2 separate regions of the Homo sapiens genome follow, and region 2 is linked to region 1. Evidence: promoter capture Hi-C in 16 types of primary human blood cells and fetal thymus (Javierre and others, 2016). All regions are on one chromosome and are shown on one strand. Each heading gives the region's core, a stretch centred on a gene start or on the middle of the fragment in contact. The rest is flanking DNA. Distances are from core to core; before and after follow the strand shown.

Region 1 (3,820 bases), core at 518-3,017:
CCCTCCCCACAGTCCTGCTGTCCTCAGGGCCCCTATGTCTCTGAAGGCACCACCATCTTCCAAGATACATGGGCCTCCGCAGGGTCTAGGAGTGCCAGACACGTAACCAGAAATCAGATGACATCACTATCTAAATAAAACACCACTACATGGAAATAGAACACCACTACATGGAAATAGAACATGGGAGCCCCTTGAATGTGGCAAGAGCACCCTCCCAGGCATGTTCCACCCTCACCCCGGGCTCATCAGGAGGGTTCTTAAGATGCAGACAGTTTTAAGGGGGTTGGAGGAATAGTTGAGAAGCTGAGATGTTGCACCCACAGCTGAGAATCCCTTTCTAGCACTCTGTGTCCTCACAAATCCCCAGAAATCGTCCTCCCCTGGGGAGTTCTCAAGCCCTTACAGACCTGCCCTCTCTGTGCCATCCTGCATATGCCTCCCTTGAGCTGGGTGTCCCTCTGATGGACGCATCCATTCACTGCCTGTCCCATGGGTTGTGTCCAAAGGTGGAATCTGTTATCAATGTGGATTTCTAATGGGAGTAACTTCCTCCATAAGGGAAGCCTCAGCCTCACCAGCAATGGCAGACATGGCCAGGCATGTAGACACAGAGGTAGTGAGATGGAAAGTGGGCACAGCCCAGAGAGCCTGCCCACCTCATCCTGGGGCGACCAGGACAAGGAAGCATCAGCAATCTTGCGAGCACATGTAGGAGTGACTTTCTGGAGCAGGACGAGCCTCATGGGCATGAGACCATTGTGAGTGCTCAGGGTCTCCCCCTAGAAAGGCACACATTTAATTCTCCATTTTGAAATTTGAAGTAGTGCCCCCACAAATTATGCAGCCCGTTCTGTTCTGGAGGAACCATTCTTATCAGAACTTGGTGCTGGATTGACTTGGAGAAAAGCCTGGCCATAATCTTCAGGATGAAATAAAGGCCTGGATGAATGGATACTTCAGTCTCTATGCAGACTTGCAGAAGACTGGAGCCTTTGGCATTCAGAAGAGGAATTCAGACTGTGCAAGATCTGAGGCCAGGCTCCAGCTCCCCAGGTCCTTTGGTGAGCAGGAGCTCCCTGAACCCACCGTGGGTCCTTGCTAGGGTTGTCTTGCCCATGTGTGCTTTAGACAGCAGCACCTCTTATTCCATGGTGTAGATGGAGAATCCTCAATAAAGCCTTCCCAAGAATATGATCATCACATCTTGAGCTCAGCCTCCCCGGAGCTTTTTTTTATATTGACAGCCACTTCAGAGAGAGTCCTCTTTGAGCTTTACAAGAAATATCCTGGTGTGAAAAAAGACCAAAACCAGATAGCCAGCCTGAACACTCTCTGTTTAGAGAAAGCTGGCTTAGCAATGTTGTATGTCTTTTGGATGTGCTGTGTTATTCACATATGAGAAGAAAGAGTTTCAAGGGTTAGCAAATAGCGTCACATTCAGCAGAGAACATGTGGTTGGGGACTAGGGCAATGGTGACTCCTCAGACCTCAGCTGCAGCCTGATAAATATGGTTAACAGAGTAGAAGGCAGTGACATGAAATGGGTGTCCACAGCCTTGTGTTGGGAATTGAATGAGAAAGAAGAGCTTGAACTTGGATGTTCCCCAGAGGCAGCACAGGGTCAGATGAGCTTTTCAAGATAGGCGTGATTGGTCTTTCCCAGGGTTGGGCCCATAACGAAAGGCAGTTATAGATTAATGGGTAATAAGTAACTGGAGGAGGGCACTTTGTCTTCCAATTACATGCTGATTTGCTAGGTGGCTCAATGACAAGGTAATTAAGGCGAAGGAAACAAATGTAGCAGGCACAGCGTGGGGTGGACAGTCAGCTGTCGGTGGCTTCTGCTGAGATGGCCAGAGGACTCCAGGTTCCCCTGCCGCGGCTGGCCACAGGACTGCTGCTCCTCCTCAGTGTCCAGCCCTGGGCTGAGAGTGGAAAGGTGTTGGTGGTGCCCACTGATGGCAGCCCCTGGCTCAGCATGCGGGAGGCCTTGCGGGAGCTCCATGCCAGAGGCCACCAGGCGGTGGTCCTCACCCCAGAGGTGAATATGCACATCAAAGAAGAGAAATTTTTCACCCTGACAGCCTATGCTGTTCCATGGACCCAGAAGGAATTTGATCGCGTTACGCTGGGCTACACTCAAGGGTTCTTTGAAACAGAACATCTTCTGAAGAGATATTCTAGAAGTATGGCAATTATGAACAATGTATCTTTGGCCCTTCATAGGTGTTGTGTGGAGCTACTGCATAATGAGGCCCTGATCAGGCACCTGAATGCTACTTCCTTTGATGTGGTTTTAACAGACCCCGTTAACCTCTGTGGGGCGGTGCTGGCTAAGTACCTGTCGATTCCTGCTGTGTTTTTTTGGAGGTACATTCCATGTGACTTAGACTTTAAGGGCACACAGTGTCCAAATCCTTCCTCCTATATTCCTAAGTTACTAACGACCAATTCAGACCACATGACATTCCTGCAAAGGGTCAAGAACATGCTCTACCCTCTGGCCCTGTCCTACATTTGCCATACTTTTTCTGCCCCTTATGCAAGTCTTGCCTCTGAGCTTTTTCAGAGAGAGGTGTCAGTGGTGGATCTTGTCAGCTATGCATCCGTGTGGCTGTTCCGAGGGGACTTTGTGATGGACTACCCCAGGCCGATCATGCCCAACATGGTCTTCATTGGGGGCATCAACTGTGCCAACGGGAAGCCACTATCTCAGGTCTGTATTGGTGCCTTCATCCAATCAATGTTCCAGGCAAAACACTTTTTAAAAAATGTATTTACTTACAAGTGCTTCCATATCTACTTATCTTTCCAAAGATTTTATTTTGGCTTCTTTATAACAGATAAACTGTTGAGGGGCCTAGTGTATTTCAAGTTTTCAGTGGTCACTGAGAGGAAGAAGAGGCACGGATGAGGGTCTGTCAGAGGATGGACAAGGACTGCTGTGACTCACGGACAGTGTTTGTAAAGGCACCATCTTCATGGTTGTGCATGTCCTTCAGCTCGGCAGGATCAGGGACACTACATTCAGAACTGATCCATCCTGGGGTTTTTGCTTGCCTGATTTTCAGCTGAACGGTGATGCAACAGTAAATTAGAATTGTGGACATGATAATTTTTAGTGGTCCCATCTTGCGAAAGATACAGAGGTGACCACAGGAGACCTAGGCACTCACAGGAAGTAGAAGTGTCAAAGAGGTTGACTCAGTTGAGTGGAAGTGGGGCTGTGAAGGTGGGATGGATGCATGTGATCAGAGAATGAAACATGGAGTTCAGTTTCCAGAGAGGGATCTGTCCTGAGAAAAGTTTTTCTGACCAGGAGTTGGGGGTCTGGTGTATGATGTGGGGACATCGTAGAGTTTGGAAGGTATGGTGATGGTTGCATGTCAAAAGGGTCTTCTACTTGGAATGCTGAAATTATCAAGAGTGGGTGGAAGGGACTAGGGAGGAGATAAGACCGTGAATCTATAAGCCCAGTGAAGCTGGGACCAGTGATGAATGGACATGTGTCCAAGAAGGGAAGTGTTTCTCAGGTGAAGCTGATCATATCACCAAACTCACCCTATCCCACTCCAAGTTTCTATAGTGGGATCTATTCTTTTTCCAAAAATTTCAGAGGTGACTTTCATTAATACAGAATATTTGGGTTTCATTGAAATAGTACTCTGGGATGTGAAAAACCAAATTCACACACCAATGAATTTGGTTTCTAAATCCATTAAGGGAGCCATCCTTTTTTTTTTTTTTTTCTTGAGACTGAGCCTCGTTCTGTCGCCCAGGCTGGAGGGCAGTGGCCGGATCTCCGCTCACTGCAACC
Region 2 (3,820 bases), core at 535-3,034, 250 kb before region 1:
CCGCCTCCCCGGTGCATGTTCGGCCCTCCCAGTGCTTGTTCCCTGCCCCTAACCGTGCATGTTCGGCCCCCCGCCCCCATGCATATTTGCCTGGTTTCTTCTAGGGGCTCAACTGCAGCTTCGTCCTGGAAATGGTGAATAACTTCAGAGCTCTGCGCAGTGAGACGGAGCTGCTGCTGTCTGGGAAGATGGCCCTGGTAAGCTGGTGCCCCAGGGACAGCAGGGCTCGGGCTGTGTGTGAAACGACTGCTGTCGCCAGGTTGCTGGGCACACAGGGCAGCACACTTTAGTCCAGAGTTCCCGGTCTTAAGGAATGGGCCGCAGAGGTCATTTGGTTTGTTGTGCGGCTGGTGCCCACCCCTGCTGGCAACCCCTCAGTCAGGTTGTCTCAAGCATGCGAGAAGCGCTTGCAGCGGAAACACCCTTGTCGTCGTGGACAGAAGATGCTTTTCTGCCTTAGAAGCCTGTAGTGCAGAGTCCTGCTCCTGCCGAGAGCTGGCCACACTCTCAGGCACCTTCCATGCTCAGCCCTGCAAAACCGGCTGATATGGCAGCTGTGGGGCTGTTACTGAATCACAGGGGCTAGAACAGGGAGAGGCCTGAGAGACTGACTGGCCAGCCTTCTGGTTTTAAAGATGAGGAGGAAGGGGCTTGATAAAGATTGGGCAACTGGAGAACCGCCCCAGGTGTGGTTTCCCAGCCCTCCACTCCGCACGCCACTCACCTCCTCACTGCACGCGTCTCCTCACTGCACGCATCACCTCACTCCACACATCACCTCACTCCACACATCTCCTCACTGCACGCATCTCACTCCACACATCACCTCACTCCACACATCTCCTCACTCCACACATCTCCTCACTCCACGCATCTCCTCACTCCACGCATCTCCTCACTCCACGCATCTCCTCACTCCACGCATGTCCTCACTGCACGCATGTCCTCACTGCACGCATGTCCTCACTGCACGCATGTCCTCACTCCACGCATCTCCTCACTCCACGCATCTCCTCACTCCACGCATCTCCTCACTCCACGCATCTCCTCACTCCACGCATCTCCTCACTCCACGCATCTCCTCACTCCACGCATCTCCTCACTCCACGCATGTCCTCACTGCACGCATCTCCTCACTCCACGCATCACCTCACTCCACGCATCACCTCACTCCACAGAAATCCTCACTCTACGCATCTCCTTATCCCATGCCTCCCCTCGTCCCACGTCCCGTGGTCACACGCGTGTCCTCACTGCACACCTCCTGCTGCCTCCTGCAAGGTTCGACTGCTGACTTTGCTTCCCACAGCATTTCCACTGCTTGACACAGGTGAATGGCTCCGACCCCATTTCTGACAGAGGGACACAAGCAGGTCAGTTGTCAGCCTTGCTCTATGTGAATTCATCGTTGACTGATGGACAGTTTTATTCTCTCACCAGCACTACTTAGAAAGTGAGGTTCTGGGTTTGGTTCCTTTTCTGGTGCTCTGGGACTTCGTTTCTGGAAAGTGAGCTCCCTGATCAGAGCAGAGCAGAGCCCTGGAGCGGACCTCACCCCCCTGGGCCTCGCGCTGATCAGCAGTGCACACTCTCCATTTCTCTCTCCCTCCCTCCGCCTGGAGCAGCAGCTGGATCCGCCTCAGAAGGAGCAGCTGGGGAGTGCTCTTGCCGAGATGGACCGACAGCTCAGGAGGCTGGCAGACACCCCGTGGCTCTGCCAGTCCGCAGAGCCCGGCGACGAAGAGGTATGTGGCTCATAGGGCTGTGCCTGGGTCTCCCGGACATGGTGGCTCTCGCCTGAAGTGCCTGTGTTCCTTGTGACCCGTGTGGCTCTGGGATCAAGATCGTGTCGCTCCGGCAGCCCCTGAGGGGCCTTCTCCAGACTTCGCTATTAAAATGCTCTTTAAGGCAGGGAGGGACAGCAGGTAGGAAGGAGTTCTGGGCTGGGATTAAGAGTGCCCCTTGAGGACCAGGGACCTGTTGTCCTCTGAAACAGAACTGCAGGGCTTCCTGGACAGTGGGTAGAAGGAAGGCTGAGCCCAGCCCCACAGCCTCCCCCGAGGGTGGAGATGTATCATGGGATAAATGGCAGCCTTTTGGGATCCCGCTGTGGACAGGGCGCAGTTGGTGTGCGCCACTCCCCACTCACACTCTCTTCCTGTGTGAACAGAAAGACTCCAGCTCGTCGCAGGTCTGGGAGGGACCCGAGGACGCAGGGCATAGCGGACCCTGGGGTGGAGTCACATTCTTCTGCAGGGAGTGCTGGCTGAAGGAGCCCTGGAGAGGGCCGTGTCTGGACAAGGACAAACCCCAGCCTGTCTCTTGGCTTCCCTGCTTCAGAGATAGAACACAGAGGGGCCCTGAGGAAAGCTCATCTTGGGCAGTACAGTTGCAGAAGGCAAATAACTGCAAGACGCCAAACCTGGGCACCCCTGCCCAGTGGGGTTTGTGAGACCTGTGGGCAGCAGTAAGGCGAGGGGACAGAGGTGGGCAGCTGCACAACAGCACCCTCTTTCCGGGGCCCTGGGGCGTTTTTTGACGCATGCAATCCTTTCATGGGAAACTGACTCAGGCACTCCAGCCGATGGATGAAACTCAGCAGCTTCTCAGTGAGGGCACTTGGGTATAAAAGGACAGGGCAAGCTCCTCAAAATCCATTAAATAATTCATTGTAAAGGTGATTAAGAAATTTTACCCAAAATTACAAAAATAATAATATACAATGATTCAACAGATGTCACAGTGACATAGCCCTATAATACCAGATTAAATTAAGGCCAGTAAAGTGGGCAGTGAGGTGAGAGGCTGGGAAGAGGACATGGACGGGGGGAGGAAAGCATGTTAAATTCCTCCTCTTACAGTGGAAGAACGTTACAAACAACATTCTTGACTTTCATACTTGGAGAAATACAGAGTCAATAATGTTTTTAGGGTCAAGAGTGGTGGCTCGCACCTGTAATCCCAGCACTTTGGAAGGCCAAGGTGGGAGGATCACGTTAGCCGAGGAGTTCAAGACCAGGCTCGGCAACATAGTGAGACCCTGTCTCTATTAAAAAAAAATTTTTTTTTAAACTTAAAGGTAATTTCTAATAGAGCTGAAAAGATTTATATCTTCCAAATTGCCACCAAGGACAAAAATAAAATACAATTTATATTGTAAAAGAAAGTAAAGGACCAGCAAGGGTATCGCTAACAGCATGAAAATAAGATAACAGAAAAATGACATGGCTTTCTCTTAAAAGTAAATTCTTAGGTTGTGTTTTAAAAGAAACCTAACCATATATTGCTCACAAGAGCCCTGTTTTTTTTTCTCATACTCCTAATAAAAATTTATGATACAGAAAGATTAATAATAATTAAAACACCATAAAAAATCCAAAGTAACAATATAAAAATAAAATTGCATATGTAAGACAATAAATGATAAAAAGAGGATCACTTTACATTGGTAAAATACAATAATTGTTATGTATAGTCATCAACTTATGACAGTTATAATAGTCACGAAACTGTGCCAAATAATAAGCATCTAAATTAGCTGTTCAAGACTATGTTTTTTATTCCCTAACTTCATTTTACTGTGCTCCAAGCAATGGTCTGTATGTTACTAGTCCTTTGAAATGTACTGAGGTGAGACTTGCCCAATAGGTGGTTTTTGTAAATGTATCTTGTATGCAGTTGTGTTTACATCATTAAGTTCCTACTGAAATTTTTTTTGTCTTCTTGATAGATCAGTTAACTCTAATACCATAATTGTAGATGTCTCAGTTTATCTTTGTGGTTATGTGTATTTTTGCTTCATGTATTTTGAGGCTATGTT

What was found. The method cuts DNA at HindIII sites, captures the fragments that hold promoters and counts their contacts. A CHiCAGO score of 5 or more calls a contact.
Region 2: a contact is called between a fragment that was not itself captured here and the fragment with the promoter of UGT1A4 in region 1, in 1 of 17 cell types (endothelial precursors). The highest score is 5.7, in endothelial precursors.

The regions. Positions count from the first base shown.
Region 1 is chr2:233,716,969-233,720,788 of GRCh38, forward strand. UGT1A4 (UDP glucuronosyltransferase family 1 member A4) reads left to right here and starts at 1,768. Exons shown (of 5, transcript NM_007120.3): 1 at 1,768-2,719. The coding sequence starts at 1,853. The region is part of intron 1 of UGT1A8 (UDP glucuronosyltransferase family 1 member A8); the gene reads left to right. All of the region lies in intron 1 of UGT1A10 (UDP glucuronosyltransferase family 1 member A10), which reads left to right. The region is part of intron 1 of UGT1A9 (UDP glucuronosyltransferase family 1 member A9); the gene reads left to right. It also overlaps UGT1A7, UGT1A6, UGT1A5 and UGT1A. The HindIII fragment of the contact is 5,069 bases long and covers 1-3,820 here.
Region 2 is chr2:233,462,539-233,466,358 of GRCh38, forward strand. DGKD (diacylglycerol kinase delta) reads left to right here. Exons shown (of 30, transcript NM_152879.3): 26 at 105-197; 27 at 1,626-1,745. Among named protein-coding and RNA genes, the nearest start is that of USP40, 100 kb to the right of the region's middle. The HindIII fragment of the contact is 4,289 bases long and covers 1-3,820 here.